Linked DNA regions of Homo sapiens: region 2 is linked to region 1. Evidence: promoter capture Hi-C in human tissues and cell types (Jung and others, 2019). All regions are on one chromosome and are shown on one strand. The core of a region is centred on a gene start or on the middle of the fragment in contact, and the rest is flanking DNA. Distances in the headings are between cores, read along the strand shown.

The links. Contacts are between HindIII fragments. The study calls those that stand out against the background at their distance.
Region 2: a contact is called between a fragment that was not itself captured here and the fragment with the promoter of NCEH1 in region 1, in 1 of the 25 tissues and cell types used here (neural progenitor cells).

Annotation. Positions count from the first base shown.
Region 1 is chr3:172,709,000-172,713,019 of GRCh38, reverse strand. NCEH1 (neutral cholesterol ester hydrolase 1) reads left to right here and starts at 1,953. Exons shown (of 5, transcript NM_020792.6): 1 at 1,953-2,173. The coding sequence starts at 2,036. RefSeq lists enhancers at 1,503-1,642, 1,687-1,981, 1,903-2,172, 1,302-2,501. The HindIII fragment of the contact is 21,212 bases long and covers 1-4,020 here.
Region 2 is chr3:172,757,250-172,761,269 of GRCh38, reverse strand. It overlaps ECT2 (epithelial cell transforming 2), which reads right to left. Exons shown (of 25, transcript NM_001258315.2): 6 at 2,201-2,290; 7 at 1,007-1,114. Among named protein-coding and RNA genes, the nearest start is that of ECT2, 8.5 kb to the right of the region's middle. The HindIII fragment of the contact is 4,962 bases long and covers 1-4,020 here.

The DNA.
Region 1 (4,020 bases), core at 704-3,203:
GCAGGCATCTGAAATCCCAGCTACTCGGGAGGCTGAGGCAGAATGGCTTGAACCCGGGAGGCAGAGGTTGCAGTGAGCCAAGATTGCACCATTGCACTCCAGCCTGGGTGACAAGAGCGATGCTCTATCTCAAAAAAAAAAAGAATAGCTTCTAATTTTCTACACATATACTCACACACAAACATAAACATAAACATTCCTATCTGTTTAGAGTTATGAGTTTAACCAGTAACTTAAAAGACAGAGAGAGAGAGAGAGAGAGAGAGAGAGAGAGAGAGAGAGAGAGAGAGAGGCCAGGTGCCGTGGATCATGCCTGTAATCCCAGCACTTTGGGAGACTGAGGTGGGCAGATCACAAGGTCAGGAGTTTGAGACCAGCCTGGCCAGCATGGTGAAACCCCATCTCTACTAAAAATACAAAAATCAGCCAGGTGTGGTGGTGGGCACCTGTAATCCCACCTACTGAGGAGGCTGAGGCAAGAGAATTGCTTGAACCCAGGAGGTGGAGGTTGCAGTGAGCTGAGATCGTGCCATTGCACTCTAGCCTGGGCGAAAAGAGCAAGACTCCGTCTCAAAAAAAACAAAAAACAAACACCAAAAACAAACAAAACAAAAAAAAAAGAGAGAGAGAACTTGCTTGAAATACCATGAAAGTGTGCCCTTCTTATCAGTTTTCCTTCAATGTTGAAGAAGAAGCCAACTGTTTCCTAAAAATCTCATTATCAGAACCAAATTTATGGTTATTTCACTTCTATTAATTTGATTAAATTAAAATTACCATCTTAAGATGCATAATTATATATACTAGGTGTTTTAAGACCTTCATCAATAAGTTTGGAGTTGTCATCCTACCACTTTCTTGAAACAGGTCTTCTAACTGTTTTCCTTCTGGATTTCTGGTTGAAATTTTGCTAGTGAAGTTTTCTCTCTCCCATTCAGTACTCACCCACCCCTCCTCACCCCCAATCATTAACAAGAAATCTGGGTTTAAGTGTATTTCTGCTACCATTGACTCACTGAAAGAATTTTTCAGGTGATATCCACACGTTTCTCCAATAAAAAGTTATTATTTTTTCCCTTTGTAGTAATTTGTGGAGAGATCTTCTGATGAAGGACCAAAATTCTGTGTCAAATTTTTACCCTCTAGTTTTAGCATTCATTTATGATTTTCTATGGATACTAGCTGGCATTCTATTTTAAGAAAAGCCTTTCTTCTTTCCTCATTTATTTATATTAATATAGATTGTTGAGTTTTATTTTAATCAATGGGTTATCCATTATGATGATTTATATTGATGGTAAAATTATCCCAGCTTCAGCCACTGGGAGACCCTTCAAGCTGGCAGCTGTGGACCTTTGACCAGTTCCTATCATTTTTTGAGCACTTCCGCATCTCTGGCACAACAGGTTCATCTTGTACTTTACAGCCCCAGCCCTGGTATCAGCCTTTTCTCCAGAGGTTGTGTCAAAAAGCCGTGGTTCCTCTTATTGGAGCATAGGATTTAGAAACCAAGACTTGGGTGCTAGATGTACTACTGGCCTTTCATTGCTTGAGCCAGAAGAATTTAATATCTTCTTTTGCCATATATCAGCTAGAACTTACAAACCACTCCAAGTCTGGCTCCAGAAAACAGAATTTTTATATCCTTTCTCAGTACTCTGAGTCAGAATGACCCACTTGCTTTGTCCAGAGACTCGTCACACTGAAACTATTTTCCGTTTGAGACCTTCCAGGAGGAAAGCCATCCTCACACGCATGCAGTACAAACCAGTGTCCTCCAGAGTCCGCTGTGCCTACGGCCAGAGCAGCGACAGAGCCTTCCTCAAACCTGTAGTGACTGCCACACTTTGCAAGGACACCGTAGAGGGGGCATGTCCGCGCTCCAACTTCCTCCCGACGCAGCCTCTGATTGGCTCCTGGGCTTATAAGAAACGCGTGAATGAGCAGCTGCCGCGGGCAGAAAGTTGCCGGAGGTCTCCGGGTGGTATCGCCCTTTCCTCTTTGCCAGCCCGCTGGCGAGCCGAGCCAGGGCAAGATGAGGTCGTCCTGTGTCCTGCTCACCGCCCTGGTGGCGCTGGCCGCCTATTACGTCTACATCCCGCTGCCTGGCTCCGTGTCCGACCCCTGGAAGCTGATGCTGCTGGACGCCACTTTCCGGGGTGCACAGCAAGTGGTGAGGTGCAGCCCAGCGCTGCTTCTCTCTTCCTCCTCTTACGCAATATTTGAAGGGGATACAAAATTCCTCCGCCGGGTTCCACGAAAACGCAGGTTTTTCCTAATGCATTGAGGCTGTCGCTTTTTGAGGTGGTCCAGTCGGGAATTTTCAGGGTATCGCATTCGCCTCCTTGCTAGCAGCGGGCTAGATCTGCATTTCCCCGTCTGCGTTTGTGACGGGGAAGAAGTGCTTGAATAGAATTTGACAACTGTTTAAACCTTCGTCTGTCCTAAATATCTTCCTCTTCCTTGGTTTGCAACGTCAAAAGGCAAATCCTTAAGCAGTTTATAAACCACCCTTCTTCACACTGTCGTTCTCCCATAGGGACCGGCAGAGGATAAATATTTTTAGGAGAGCTCGGGAAAAGCAGGCTCTGGTTCCTGGGAATGCAGCCACCTTAGAAGCAGAAGCAGGCAAGGGCAGTCTCGCAATGTCCCCAGGCTGTGGAGCGCTCCGTTCCCGGAGACAGCAGGCAGGGCTCTCCATCCAAGCACTTGAGGAACCATAGGGATCTCTCGTTTCACCCGAGGCAGATCTCAGCTCAGCCCAAGAAAGAGGACTGGGAGGCTGGGCTGGCTGAAAGGAGGTGAGGAGGCGGCAGCCCTGGTTTGCATGATGCATGTTTTCTGCTTGCCCTGCAGCATTTATTTTATGTCCTTGGCTGTCAGATAACCTTTTCCTGAGCGAGGTTACCTGCCTTAACCTGGGAGGGTAACATTTCTCTCCACTGTATCATGGGCGTGTGTTCATTCCTTCCATACACAGGAAAATATAACTGTCTCTGGTTTATTCCATGGTAAGAGGCATTATTTTTAGTGTCAGAGAATCTAAAATCTAAACTACAGTCTGCAGCCAAGGCTGAGCCCTCTGATTGGACAGTATTTCTGAGCAGCCTGCTCTATCTAAACTCTAACCTTCTCCAAAACCAAGCCTCCTCCCTCCCCACAACCTTGGGCTTTAATCTCAGAATATTTTTATAAACTCTTTCTTTCAGAAATGACAACTAGAGAAAGAGAAAAAAAATCATTTCAACCTGAGAAAGCTGATTTTAAAAAAGTCATGATTTTCCCAGAGGGTTTATGTTCCTGTTCCCTGTCCACTCATTATGTGTAGGATTACATAATCTGTGGGGCTTTATCCTATGAAAAGTCCCCTTACTAGGATATTGCAGCACATTCCTAGCGTGGATTTGCTTTTCCTGAATTCAGCCACATTCTCACCTCCAAAGCCCCTTTTGTCTCTTAGGAAAGGTCTATGAAGCTATAGACCCCTGCCCCCCTTCTTTTCCTCTTGCTTCCTATAATGTTGACATGGTGAAAATGATCATCCCCTTCTTTAGCACTGGTGTCAAGAAAGTCAGTCTTGTTGTAGGAAGCCTTGCATTCCCTCTCCTCCCCCATGAAATTATGTAATTTGAAAGTAATACCCTTCAAAGATTGAGGAACAGTGATGTTTACCTGGGTGGGTTAATGGTCTACTACAATAACTTAAACAGAGGAAAACAGGAAAAAGATCAAACTGCTGTGTTGGCTGCAGAGATTATTCTTAGTTTTCAGGTCACCAAAGAAGTCTTCTCCATCATAAGTTAATCTCGGACAAGCTAGGTTTGGAGAAAAGCTTTTCTTTCCCAGCTAGGCTTGCCAGCCCATTAAGGACAAGGCTGTGTAAGGTCCTCCACAGAGTATACCCTCAGGTGGTGCTTGGGAATGATAGTGGGTGTAACCTGAAGTCAGCAATAGATGAGGTAACCAGTGTTCTCACCTGACACTGTGGCTCAGGAGTGGATTTGCAGAAAAATGGCTCTT
Region 2 (4,020 bases), core at 574-3,073, 48 kb before region 1:
CTAAAACCTTAGATATGAGTTGAAATATTTAGGGTAAATTGAAGAGTACACTAAAATTACCATTTGCTACACAAATACACTAAGGGAGACTAAGAAAAAATGATAAACTCTTGCTAAGACATTCAACTATAATCTTAAACTAAGATTCAATCCTAGTGAGAGTATTTTCTCCTATTATAATATTCACAAGTTAAATCTTAGAACCACTTTATAAGAGCAGAGCTCTGTTCTTATGAAGGGCACTTAGACAGCCAGGCACAGTGGCTCATGCCTGTAATCCCACCACTTTGGGAGTCCGAGGCAGGCAGATCACCTGAGGTCGGGAGTTTGAGACCACCCTGGCCAATATGGTGAAACCCTGTCTCTATGAAAACTACAAAAATTAGCCGGGCATGGTGGTGCGCACCTGTAGTCCCAGCTACTCGGGAGGCTGAGGCAGGAGAATGGCGTGAACCCAGGAGGCGGAGCTTGCAGTGAGCCGAGATGGCACCACTGCACTCCAGCCTGGGTGACAGAGAGAGACTCAGTCTCAAAAAAAAAAAAAAAAAAAAAAAAAAGGCACTTAGACAAGAGTAAATTCCCTACTTTCACAATTCCTACAATGTTATTCATCTACCAACCCCCACGATCCTAGTCATCTTTCAACACCTCACTCAAGTTCCATTGCCTACTTAAAACTTAACCACTCGGCCAGGCCTGGTGGCTCACGTATGTAATCTCAACACTTTGGGAGGCCAAGGCAGGAGGATCACTTAAGCCCAGGAGTTCGAAAGCAGCCTGGGTAACAGAGCAACACCCCATCTCTATTTAAAAAAAAAGAAAAGAAAAGAAAAGAAAGAAAATTTAACCACTCTTATGATTTAAAATTTTTTACTAAATATATTCATAGCAAAAATTGAGTTTCTCTTCTTTAATTGTGAAAGAAATAGATAAAAGACTGCTATTATTAAACCCATGCCAAAATAATGCTGTATTGAAATACACAAAAATACCCAAGTTTACATACCCTGAATTTTTCTCCTTGTGTACAATTTGCCACCAAATGTGTAACTTTTGAATTAAAGTCTTTTCGAATAACTCCACCCATGTGATGGACCAATGTCACCAACCTGACCTCAAAAGAAAAATTAAGCAACACTGACTTTATGGTTAATTTGAACAAAATTTTAAACTATGTTTACCCCACATTTAGCATTTGCTAAATACTTTCTATTTATAAAATACATACGGGATTTTTATAAAGCTATTAAATTTTATGTCAAAGTAAGTATAAAAAAGATTAGTTTGCCTATTAACACAGGCAAAATTATAGAGGTGGGATTAGTAAAGATTTCACACAAATGTAAGTTAAACAACCGCCTTTCCTATGGCCTAAATATATTGCTTTTTAATACCATACTGTGTAAATATATTGGTTTTTTTAAAAAAATACCAAGTTTTATCACATCAAGACTGTTCCCACAAAATCAGAGTAATACCCATCAGTTCCAACAACAAAGTATTGTGAACCAAAGAAAGAACTTTCTGGCCGGGCGCGGTGGCTCACGCATGTAATCCCAGCACTTTGGGAGGCCGAGGCAAGCGGATCACGAGGTCAGGAGATCAAGACCATCCTGGCTAACACGGTGAAACCCCATCTCTACTAAAAATACAAAAAAAAATTAGCCAGGCGTGGTGGCGGGCGCCTGTAGTCCCAGCTCCTCGGGAGGCTGAGGCAAGAGAATGGTGTGAACCTGGGAAGCGGAGTTTGCAGTGAGCCGAGATTGCGCCACTGCACTCCAGCCTGGGTGACAGAGCAAGACTTGTCTCAAAAAAAATAAAATAAAAATAAAAAAGGAACTTTCTATGAATTCTATAGGGCAACAGAATACTTTCAGGCTGAACTTGCATAATAAGAAATTGCAATGTATAAACAAAAACTTTAAATAACCAACGTAGCCAATATGGTAACAAGACAGTCAAACAGAATTGCTATGAAATCTTTCTATTAATTCACATCAGCCAGCCTAGACAAAACACTGGTCTCTTTATAAGGCTCTTCAGGATTTGTTTCTTCAGAAAATTTAAAATCTGGTATAGCCATAATAAGTTATCCTTCAATATTTTAAAAATAAAACCATAATACTAAAAAGAAAAAAAAGCCAATTTTAATTTATTTTGCTGTAAAAAATACGCTTTGAATTTGTTTCGTAATACTTACTAGTTCTTCTTTTTTCCTAAATCCAGTAAAGCATAGTACTAGATTCATCATACTTGTACAATACAACGGGCGACATGAAAATGGCAAAGGCTGAAGGATACAACAATTTTAAATGTGAGCTTTCTCTTTAGTAGAAAATACAACACAACTTTCTCAAGCTAAATATATTTCATTTCCCCTCTTGCCATTCAACTTTCCCAATCCAAAGATTTACTGGCATTTTTTCAATATGCAACAAAAAAACAGCAAAACGACAGATTGCAAGTTTCCCAATAAAAATATTTCCCGATTCCTTAATCATATGCAATATACATAATCTAAACACACTTTACTCTCAGCAAATTAAACAAATATTAAATGCACTCTGACAGACATGAAGTACTGACTATAAGCAAAGTTTTCAGACTCCATACACTACTATAGATGATTCTAATTAATGTCATTAAAACAGGTCAGAGGCATTTTATAATAAACACTGAGTAAATATAATACACACACTTAAACCAAATATAATTCTAATCTTTAAGCTAATAAATGGTGATATTCAGTAAATAATTTACCCAACGGTTGTGTGTGTGTGTGTCTGTGTGTGTGTGTGTGTATAAAAGAGAACGGTTTAAAAATAATAAAAGAATAAATTTGATTTTCATCATTATATAAGATTATTTTTCAAAATTTGGCCTTTTAAAGTTTATTTGGGTTTTGAAACCAACCACTCCAAATCAAAATGTAAGAGAATTAAAGGTTAACATGTGCTTATTATTACTAACATGTGTAACAATAGAAGTACAAAGACCTAAGCAATTTTAAGTAAACAAGGCAAGCTTAAGAATGCCAAGACAGCAACAAAACCAAATAGGGACTAACTCTCATACGACTCATATTGAAATGCTGTTTAAAAACAAAAAGAAGCGGGGCACGGTGGCTCATGCCTGTAATCTCAACACTTTGGGAGGCAGAGGCAGGAAGATAACGTGAGGTCAAGAGTTCGAGACCAGCCTGGCCAACATGGTGAAATCCTGTCTCTACTAAAAATAGAAAAAACTTAGCCAGGCGTGGTGGCATGCACCTGCAGTCCCAGCTACTTGAGAGGCTGAGGCAGTAGAATCGCTTGAACCCGGGAAAGCAGAGGTTGCAGTGAGCAGAGATCGTGTATTTATTTATTAAATAAATAAATAAATACAAAAAGCTAAAATAATTTTTGAATTTTAAGTTATACAGTAACTGATAAAAATGGAACCGTGGTATCTGTTCTGTGTTGAGAAAAATAAAAGTTTATGTATATGTATGAATTTCTGGAACCCAAGTTTAAGCAAGTAATCTTCTCTAAGACATTGTGGTATTGATAGTGTATACGCCAGGCGCAGTGGCTCACGCCTGTAATCCCAGAACTTTGAGAGTCCGAAGCGGGTGGATCACGAGGTCAGGAGATCAAGACCATCCTGGCTAACATGGTGAAACGCCATCTCTACTAAAAATACAACAAAGTAGCTGAGCATGGTGGCGGGCACCTGTAGTCCCAGCTACTGGGGAGGCTGAGGCAGGAGAATGGCGTGAACCCAGGAGGCGGAGCTTGCAGTGAGCTGAGATCGTGCCACTGCACTCCAGCCTGGGCACAGAGCAAGACTCCGTCTCAAAAAAAAAAAAAAAAAAAGGACTATGTATTTGTCTGTGTATATGCATATGTACAGTTATCATTATTTAACTTTCAAAGGCCTTAGCTTTTCACCACTAAGTTTAAAATGGAGGAATTAAAGGACCACATTAGAATAGCCACTATTATTCCTATTCTAAATATTTTGCTCTCAGCAATCAATGAG